Regions from separate parts of the Homo sapiens genome. Here all the other regions are linked to region 2. The links are contacts of gene promoters, found by promoter capture Hi-C in blood cells and fetal thymus (Javierre and others, 2016). All regions are on one chromosome and are shown on one strand. The core of a region is centred on a gene start or on the middle of the fragment in contact, and the rest is flanking DNA. Distances in the headings are between cores, read along the strand shown.

Region 1 (3,498 bases), core at 536-3,035, 700 kb after region 2:
AACCTAGGCAATACCATTCAGGACATAGGCATGGGCAAGGACTTCATGTCTAAAACACAAAAAACAATGGCAACAAAAGCCAAAATTGACAAACGGGATCTAATTAAACTCAAGAGCTTCTGCACAGCAAAAGAAACCACCATCAGAGTGAACAGGCAACCTTCAGAATAGGAGAAAATTTTTGCAATCTACTCATCTGACAAAGGGCTAATATCCAGAATCTACAAAGAACTCAAACAAATTTACAAGAAAAAAAACAAACCCATCAGCAAGTGGGAGAAGGATATGAACAGACACTTCTCAAAAGAAGACATTCATGTAGCCAACAGACACATGAAAAAATGCTCATCATCACTGGCCATCAGAGAAATGCAAATCAAAACCACAATGAGATACCTTCTCACACCAGTTAGAATGGCAATCATTAAAAAGTCAGGGAACAACAGGTGCTGGAGAGGTTGTGGAGAAATAGGAACACTTTTACACTGTTGGTGGGGCTGTAAACTAGTTCAACCATTGTGGACATCAGTGTGGCAATTCCTCAGGGATCTAGAACTACAAATACCATTTGACCCAGCCATCCCATTACTGGGTATATACCCAAAGGATTATAAATCATGCTGCTATAAAGACACATGCACACGTATGTTTATTGCGGCACTATTCACAATAGCAAAGACTTGGAACCAACCCAAATGTCCATCAATGATAGACTGGATTAAGGAACTGTGGCACATATACACCATGGAATACTATGCAGCCATAAAAAAGGATGAGTTCATGTCCTTTGTAGGGACATGGATGAAGCTGGAAACCATCATTCTCAGCAAACTTTCTCAAGGATAGAAAACCAAACACCACATGTTCTCACTCATAGGTGGTAATTGAACAATGAGAACACATGGACACAGGAAGGGGAACATCACACACCAGGGCCTGTCATGGGTTGGGGGGATGGGGGAGGGATAGCATTAGGAGATATACCTAATGTAAATGAGAATGAGAAGTTAATGGGTGCAGCACACCAACATGGCACTTGTGTACATACGTAACAAACCTACACATTGTGCACATGTACCCTAAAGCTTAAAGTATAATAATAAAAAAAGAAATAGAACTAATACTGTAAGTCAAAAACAAATTAAACATCTGATGCTTCTTAAGAAAAAAAAAAGAAATGTAGTTCACTCATAGTCTGCTTAGTTGTGATGCTTTAACTCTACTTCTTGACAGAAACATTTACTCCAAATTCCTGATGTTCTTTAATTTTAAAAACAATATTAGATTTCCTTTTTTTATTATTTTTAATTTTGTGGGAACATAGTATATGTATATATTTATGGGCTACATGAGATATTTTGATATTGCATCGTATACATTTTGTATACATTGTATGCCTGTATAAAAATACATGTCTGACAGGAGAATTGCTTGAATCTGCGAGGCAGAGGTTGTGGTGAGCCAAGATCGCGCCATTGCACTCCAGCCTGGGCAACAAGAGCAAAACTCTGTCTCAAAAAAAAACAAACGAACAAACAAACAAAAAAACCATGTCTGTGTTTTTATACAGGCATAAAATGCATGATAATCACAGCAGGGTAAATGGGGTATCCATCATCTCATGCATTTATCCTTTCTTTGTATTACAAACAATCAAATTATACTCTTGTATTTATTTTTAAATGTACGGTATATTATTATTTACTGTAGTGACCCTGTTATTCTGTCAAATACTAGATTTTATTCATTCTAACTATATTTTTGTACCAATTAAATATCGCTACTTCCTTTTCTCTCCCACCTCCATTACCCTTCCCAGCCTCTGGTAACCATCATTCTACTCTCTGTCTCCATGAGTTTAATTATGTTAATTTTCACCTCAAATAAGTGAGAACAGGTAAAGTTTGTCTTTCTGTGTCTGACTTATTTCGCTTAAAATAATGTCCTCCAATCACAAGGTCAGGAGATCGAGACCATCCTGGCTAACACGGTGAAACTCTGTCTCTACTAAAAAAAATACAAAAAAATTAGCTGGGCATGTTGGTGGGCGCCTGTAGTCTCAGCTACTCGGGAGGCTGAGGCAGGAGAATGGCGTGAACCCGGGACGCAGAGCTTGCAGTGAGCCGAGATGGCGCCACTGCACTCCAGCCTGGGTGACAGAGCAAGACTCCGTCTCAAAAAATAAATAATAATAAGAAGAAGAATGTCCTCCAGTTCCATCAATGTTGTTATAAATGACAGGATCTCATTCTTTATTACAGCCAAATAGTACTCCCTTGTACTACTGTATAAGTATCATCTTTTATTTATCCATTTGTCTTCTGAAGGACACTTAAGTTTCTTCCAAATCTTGGCTGTTGGAAATAATGCTCCAATAAACATGGGAGTGCAGATATATCTTCAATATACTGATTTCTTGCTTTTATATTATACCTAATGATGGGACCGCTGGATAATATGAGAGCTCCTATTATTAGATTTTGAGGAAGCTTCAAACTTTTCTCCGTAGTATCTGTATGAATTTACATTTCCACCAACAGGGTACAAGGGCTCCTTATCTCTGCATCATTGCCAGGGTTTGTTATTGCCTATCTTTTGGATATAAGCCATTTTAACTGGGTTGAGATAGTATCTCCTTTTAGTTTTGATTTGCATTTCTCTGATCATCAATGATGTGGAGCACGTTTTCATATACATGCTTGCCATTTGTATGTCTTCTTTTAAGAAATATCTATTTACATCTTTTGCCCATTTTTAAACTGAATTAATAGGTTTTTTATTTTAGAGTTATTTGAGCTCCTTATATATTCTGATTATTAATCCCTTGTCAGGTGGGCAGTTTTTAAATATGTTTTTCTGTTCTGTAAATTGTCTCTTCATTTTTTGATTACTTCCTTTGCTGTTCAGAGCTTGGTAACTCGATATGATCTCATTTGTCCATTTTGGCTTTAGTTGCTTGTGTTTCTGGGGTATTACTCATGAAATCTTTGCCCACTCCAAAGTCCAAAGATTTTAGCCAGCGTTTTATTGTAGTAGTTTTATAGCTTGATGTCTCAGAATTAAGTTTTTCTTTTGATTGGATTTTTGTATATGGCAAGAGGTAGGGATCTATTTAATTCTTCTGCATATGGATAGCTAGTTTTCCCAGAAAACTAGATATCTTATTGAAAAGACTGTCCTTTACCCAATGTAGGTACTTGCACCTTTGTTTAAAATGAGTTCACTCCAGATGTGTGAATTTGTTTCTGGATTATCTATTCTGTTCTATTGATCTATGTGTTCATTTTTAGGCTAGTACCATGCTGTTTTGGTTACTATGACTCTGTAGTATAATTTGAAGTCAGGTGATGTAATTCCTCTTGTTTCGTTCTTTTTGGTTAGAATAATTTTGGTTATATATAAATTTGGTTATATATAAATTTTAGATATTTTTTTCTATTTTGTGAAGAATGTCCTTGGTATTTTGATAGGGACTGCACTGAATCTGTAGATGGCCTT
Region 2 (3,128 bases), core at 96-2,595:
ACAATAACTTTCATCTTTATCAATTTCCTCTTGGGGCAGAAACCTCACAGGATTTTAACCATGTTGTTGGTGAGAAAGTGGAAAACTAAAATCATTCTGAGAGTTACAGAAACACATCAGTATCTTGGTATGCAATTTATGTTAAAGCATTTATGAAACTGTGCAAATGAAAAATATTCTGATAAAAGGCACCACGAAAACAAGCAAAGGTGAGTTTGAAAGAGACATGATAAAACATAAACTTAAAACTTTCTAAAGCTGTATGAGAACTCACAGTATAACTTATCATAATAAACAAAACATATAATCACTTAAAAAAACTATGACAGGAATTCTGTAGAATATAGTATTTTATTAATCAGGACAAATTCTAAGAAAAATAAGGTTTAATTTTCCTTATTTAGCTTTCTCAAAAAGAATATTGAAAAGAATGAGTAAAACCATATTCCAATAACATTTCTTGTTTTCCAACTTATTCTGTGCTTGAGGAAATTGGAGGTATACCATAAAGCTTTCTGTCCTCCTAGGAAACTATGCTTAGGGCATATGACATATATTGTTCTAAGAATTTATTTTTCTTTTCTAATAGGAGGTAGGAGGAAAGCACCTATTTCTTTATAAGCAATTTATGACTGTAACATACAATTTCACATGTCTGTGACAGCTGTTTCTCTAAAGCAGACCATTAGTACAGAGCATGCCTATAAATCTCAGGTCCAAAAAACAGGAGTTCCCATCTTCGGTAATTTGAATGCCATGTTTTCAGTAACACTTATTAGGGAAACATTTATAACCCTACAGTTAACTTTGGATGTTGAGTTTGTAAAATTGGTGCTTTTAATATGAAAAGGCTAAAGTTGTTATCAAATAAGATATTTCCTATGCAAATGTTCCGGCAACTGTTTAAATTTTATCAAGTTGTATCTCTTTTTTTTTATGTACGACTGTATTTTCTACTTACGTGCAAATATAACTTCTATAAAGCATGATGACAGGTAAGCACACACATGCGGAAAAGGGAGATTGAATTTGGTTTTAAGATATTATCTGCTTCTACATAAATCTTTCACAAATAAAACTTTATTGTGTCCGACTTGTTTACATAGCTAAGCAACGCATATTCATTTATGATACACACCTCGATTTCAGCAAATTAAGCAGTAACTTACCTAGAGAAGCATTTCAATATTTTGTCTTTTTCTAACTTGAATTTATCCCGTGTTAGAACATGAGATATCCAGTATTCAGGTTCACTTGGCTCCAGGTTAATTAGAAGGAGCTTTCAGTTCATGCAATCTGCCTCAACAATATTCCAAGAGCACTCTCTAGCTCCAGTCTTAGTGTCTGAACTCTTCCAGCAGAGTCCTTTTATTTATACACACATTGTCCTTTTCAAAACAAGCAGCCAGCTGGAATGATTCAAACCTCTGTTCAGCACACCGTTAAAATGCAGCTTCCTTCTTGGACACGAGAATTACACCAGGGAGCAGACCGAGTACAGCAAAAAGGCTATGAGAACTATTTAATCACCGGAATACCAGCTGCTCCTGCTCTGCTGTTGCTAGTGCTGCTGTGCCTCTTGTTTAGCTGTAGTCGGTCTTTCCCTCCCTCCCTCTCTCTCACATCTCCAGAACTATAAAGGCAGCTTTGCCGGATTATGATTGGCAGAAACAGCCAATTCCTTCAGCTAATCATCCTCAAGACTTTCAAGGACCTGGAGCTGTTGTGATGTCATCCAGTCAGTGGGATGTTACACATGAATACATTCCAACAGAAGCTAATTCAGCGATGGGCTGCATTCCGCTCACACCGCGGTGATTGATTAGATGCTCCTTGAAGATTTGCATAATCTTTCATTGTACAGTTCGACTATTTCCTATGAAATTTGAGGATAGAATTCCACTTTGCAGCTATGACACTGTTCCACGAGATTCTATTGGACAAAATAAGAAAAGTTCAAAGCAGGATTTTCTGCTGTAAATGTGTGCCAGTTAAACACAAAAATTACAAACTCAACAAAAGCCAACAATGAGCAATAGGAAACTCGGACAAGTATTAGTAAGCTACATAGTCCTGAAGTTAATAACAGCATTTTAGACCATGATAAATGTTAGAAGAAAAGAAAGAGTATGTGCGTGTGAATTTATTGTGTGCATTGTTTTAGTAATTAAGGTAAACTACTGGATTATTATGGAAAAGTTCTTTTCTATGTCTCTTTTCTTCTTTTTAACGTGGCAATATAAGTTGAAAATTACCTGCTCTTTGTTTTCTATTAATTCGTGTAAACACATAAAGATATTATCAAGTACTTTTATATACATTATGTAAAGTTCTTTAAACTTATTCATTAGGATATATGTAAAAGTAAAAGTAAAGTGCTTTCAGGTACTTCTCCTCATTCCAGACTACATGATTCCCTGGGCTTTTCTTGCTTTAGTACATCCCTTAGTTTCTACCATTTAATTTAGTGGAATAAGATAGGCTAATGAGAATTTGGTTCAACACCCCTAATAGGTTGCAGAACAGAACTACAAGCTTTTCTCAACTCCAAGTCCTCCTCAGGTATATGGGTGTCTTTGGTTGTACGTAGTAGTTCCACTTGAAATACTGGTGTGGTTTCAATGAAATCCTCTATAAGACTGGAAGGTAGGGGTAGGAGGGAGTCCTTCAAAACTCAGCATTTATTGATGATGTGGTCTTTCAGAAGAATAATTTTAATGCATCCAGGATTACTAGTATTATTATACTGCACAAGGTTTTGAGGGTTAGCAAGCCATAGACATATGCCATACAGAGAATAGGGAAAAAAAATCTAGCAAGTTAGAAAAAATATTTACCAGTTATTCATAAGCAATAAATAAAACCTAGTAACTCATAGGTCATGTATCAGTTAGTTTTTCAGGTGCACAGGCTAAAATATATTAAAGAAAAAATTTATATTTTAAAAATAATTAAAGCGTTCAGGTACTTCTTACTACCTTTTAAAACATTTGGAATGCAAAGATGCATTGAAGTCAAGTCAGAATTTTCAGAGTGATACACATCAAAATTCAAAATGGATAAATAAACTGCAGTTAAATATTTCAAAGATGTCATAATAAAATAATTATTACTAGAGTAGCATCATG
Region 3 (3,255 bases), core at 485-2,984, 690 kb after region 2:
TTGCAGAAGCAAACATTGCCCTTTCAGCATGATGCTGTACCTTCCCAATTTAGAAATCAGATAATTCAAATATGATTTGTTATATCAGTAACATAAAATCCACTAAAGAAAGGCTAGAAAGAAAGTGGATTATGGAGCTACAAACAAATCTCCTCTTTTAAATACATTTATTTTCATGTAAATTAACACTTATACCTATAAATGGGATCCTAATATTCTTTTAGCTTAAATACTATACTTCATCTTATTAAAATTGTGAAAATACAAAATATTTTTATCTTCTGTTCATTAAAAGAACTAAATGCCTAGAAGTTATCTTGCTTCATTTCCAGGTGTTTCACCCATAAAATTTGAAATATCTAAGCTATATACAAATGCTAATAAAAACAACACTTTTAAATAAACTACTGTGAGGAGTATGTAATATGATTGACAAATAATATAGGTAAATAATATGCCTTACACTAAGTAAATATAGCAAAAATGCTTTTAAAATTATTTATGTAATGTTATTTTAGCAGTTTTGAATACACATGCTTTCTTCTTGACAATTTTATAGAACATAAAATTTGGATATAAATTGTATATTAAAATGTCATATTTAAAATTCATTCAAAAATTGGTTGGCAGTGTCTTTTTTTTCAGTTGAAAAACCCATTGATTTAGAATCTAACCACCTGCTACAGCAGATGAGTGCCTCTTCCTCTTTGAAAGGAGAATGCCTCAATCTGTGCTTTGGATCTCTTTGAACTATTTTCTATCCCAGTGCTTATTATCTATTCTTTCTCTCAACATGCAATCAGGTTCTCTCAATTTGATTCTTCTCATTTTTAAAAGCATCTTCTCAGTTCTCCTTATTTCAAAAATCAATAACAGTAGCAGCAGCAACAAAACTTCTGAATCCTATTTCTTCCTTTTGTCAACCTATACTAAGCTTTCCTTCATGACTGACACTCTCAAAACGTGTGCCTATTCTTATTGTTTTTATTTTGTCACCAACATGTCTGGCAATTCATTGGAACTGGCTTCTGTCTCTATTAATAACCTAAGCAGCTCCCACTACTAAACAAAGCCATAGCCTCTGTGTTACTAAGTCCAAATCTCATTCTACCCAGAGTGTTAATCCCCCCACCCATTCATTTATTTCTATGTACTTTGTTTTTTCTTTTACAATATTCTCATGCATTTTTTCTACCTCACTGACCACCCATTCAGTCTCCTGTGCAAATCCGGTTTCAATAATAAAACCACGGTAAATTGAGTTTCTCCAGGTCAGACCTAGAAAACCTTCTCTTTTCAATCTATACCTTCTTCCTTGATCTTATCCAAATCTTAGGTTTTGAGATTTACTTTATTGAAAGAAAACTTACAAATGTATATCATCATTTTAGTTATCTCCTCAGAGCTCATGATGGAATATGCTGTTTGGTATCTCTGTTTATCTTAAAAACACTTCACAAACAACATTCTAAAGGATGAAAAAGACTTACACTCAAAAGACATGTGTAACTATTCTGTTATACAGGACAGTAATTTACTTTTGTCCTTCTCCACTCCATCAAACTTAAGCTCAACATCAAACTCTATCAAACTGAACCATATTATGTCTATTAAATCTTCACATTTATCTTCACAATGCAACCCCCTTCTCTCCTGTCTCCCTGTTATGTAGATACACACACACACAAACTAGTCCAAGATATTTTCATGTGTCTTCTAGAATATTAGTTATTCTGTTGAACCTCCTTTTTTTGCTTCCAGTCAATTCTCCATTTCTGCATTCAGAATTCCAAAGTGCAAATGTTATCTGAAAAATAAGCCCTTCATTAAAACATTTAAATGGCTCTTCAATGCCCTCAGCCATAAAAAAAAGTCTTTAATATTTGTCCCATGAAGTGCTGTGTGATAGGCCCTCTAATTGTCTTCCCAGCAGATTCTCACAATGTGATACTGTGAGCAACGCTATGTTATATAAACTCACTTATTAAAGTCTAATAGTACATTCAGAAACATGAGCGGGTCATAAATACACACCTAGATAAATGTTCATGAAGTGATTACATGTAAGCAACCAGAATATTCTTGAGAAAAAGACCTTAAGTGCAACCCAGAAAACCTCTCATCCTTTCTCCTACTCATCTCACTCTCTCCTGAAAAGTAACTATCCTTGTATATGCATGATAGATTAATTTTCTTTAAGTTTGAAATATATGCAAATGGAACCATATATTATGTCTTATTTTATTTCTGGCAAATTTTATTCAAGATTAGATTTATGTCTTCTGTATAAAATAAGTTATTTATTTTGTCAGTAGATGGTTAATGAGCATTTGGGTTACTTTTGTATTTTTAATTACTACAGTTAATATTATAGCTAGCCTTCTTGCACATGTCTTTTGATACATGTATCCATGGGTTTGTGTTATCTATGAAAGCAGGTATAAAACTCTGGGGACATAGTGTATTTATACATTCCCTTTCATATATGCTGAAAAGCTGTTTTCTAAAGTGGTTGTACTAATTTAGAAGTAGATAAAAGCTTCTGTTATTTCACAACTTTTCCTGCTTTTAGTACTTTAGTATTTTTAATTGTAGCCTGATGAGTATGTAGAAATACGTTAGAATAGTTCTACTTTGCATTCTCCTTATTACCATTGATGTAGTACAGATATTCATATGCTTATTGACCATTTGCATATTTTATTATGTAAATGTTCTGTATTGAGGTTAAGGAAGTTTCTTTTTGTCTCTGGTTTTCTAAGAGTTTTAGTCATGATGGATATGAAATTTGGTCATCATATGATGTTTGGACATCATATGTTTGTTCTTTATATTTTGTTAATGTGTGAATTATATTTATTGACTTTGAAAACAGAAATCCTAGGTATGTCTTTGGATTCTGTTTGCTAATATTTTGCCTAAGATTTTTTTATCCATGTTTGCAAATGCAATTGACCTGAAATTTTCATTTTTGAAATATTTTAGCAGGTTTTTAAATCAAGGTTATTCTGGAGTCAACATGACTCATATGCTTTTTTCTCTTTTTTCTCTCTTCACATAATGAACTATATATTTTCTGTTGCTTTATGTCTCTAGTCACAAATTCTCTCTTTCATTGTATAATGTCACTGTTCAATTGAATTTTTTTTTTTTTTGAGATGGAGTCTCGCTCTGTCGCCCAGGCTGGAGTGTAGTGGCGCAATCTCAGTTCACTGCAAGCTCTGCCTCCCAGGTTCACACCATTCTCCTGCCTCA

The links. The method cuts DNA at HindIII sites, captures the fragments that hold promoters and counts their contacts. A CHiCAGO score of 5 or more calls a contact.
Region 1: a contact is called between a fragment that was not itself captured here and the fragment with the promoter of NDST4 in region 2, in 1 of 17 cell types (M2 macrophages). The highest score is 6.5, in M2 macrophages.
Region 3: a fragment that was not itself captured here is called in contact with the fragment with the promoter of NDST4 in region 2 in 1 of 17 cell types (M1 macrophages); the score reaches 5.1 in M1 macrophages.

What each region holds. Positions count from the first base shown.
Region 1 is chr4:115,816,716-115,820,213 of GRCh38, forward strand. No RefSeq gene overlaps it. Among named protein-coding and RNA genes, the nearest start is that of MIR1973, 480 kb to the right of the region's middle. The HindIII fragment of the contact is 1,404 bases long and covers 1,084-2,487 here.
Region 2 is chr4:115,112,275-115,115,402 of GRCh38, forward strand. NDST4 (N-deacetylase and N-sulfotransferase 4) reads right to left here and starts at 1,346. Exons shown (of 14, transcript NM_022569.3): 1 at 1,170-1,346. The HindIII fragment of the contact is 2,024 bases long and covers 510-2,533 here.
Region 3 is chr4:115,798,616-115,801,870 of GRCh38, forward strand. No RefSeq gene overlaps it. Among named protein-coding and RNA genes, the nearest start is that of MIR1973, 500 kb to the right of the region's middle. The HindIII fragment of the contact is 1,605 bases long and covers 933-2,537 here.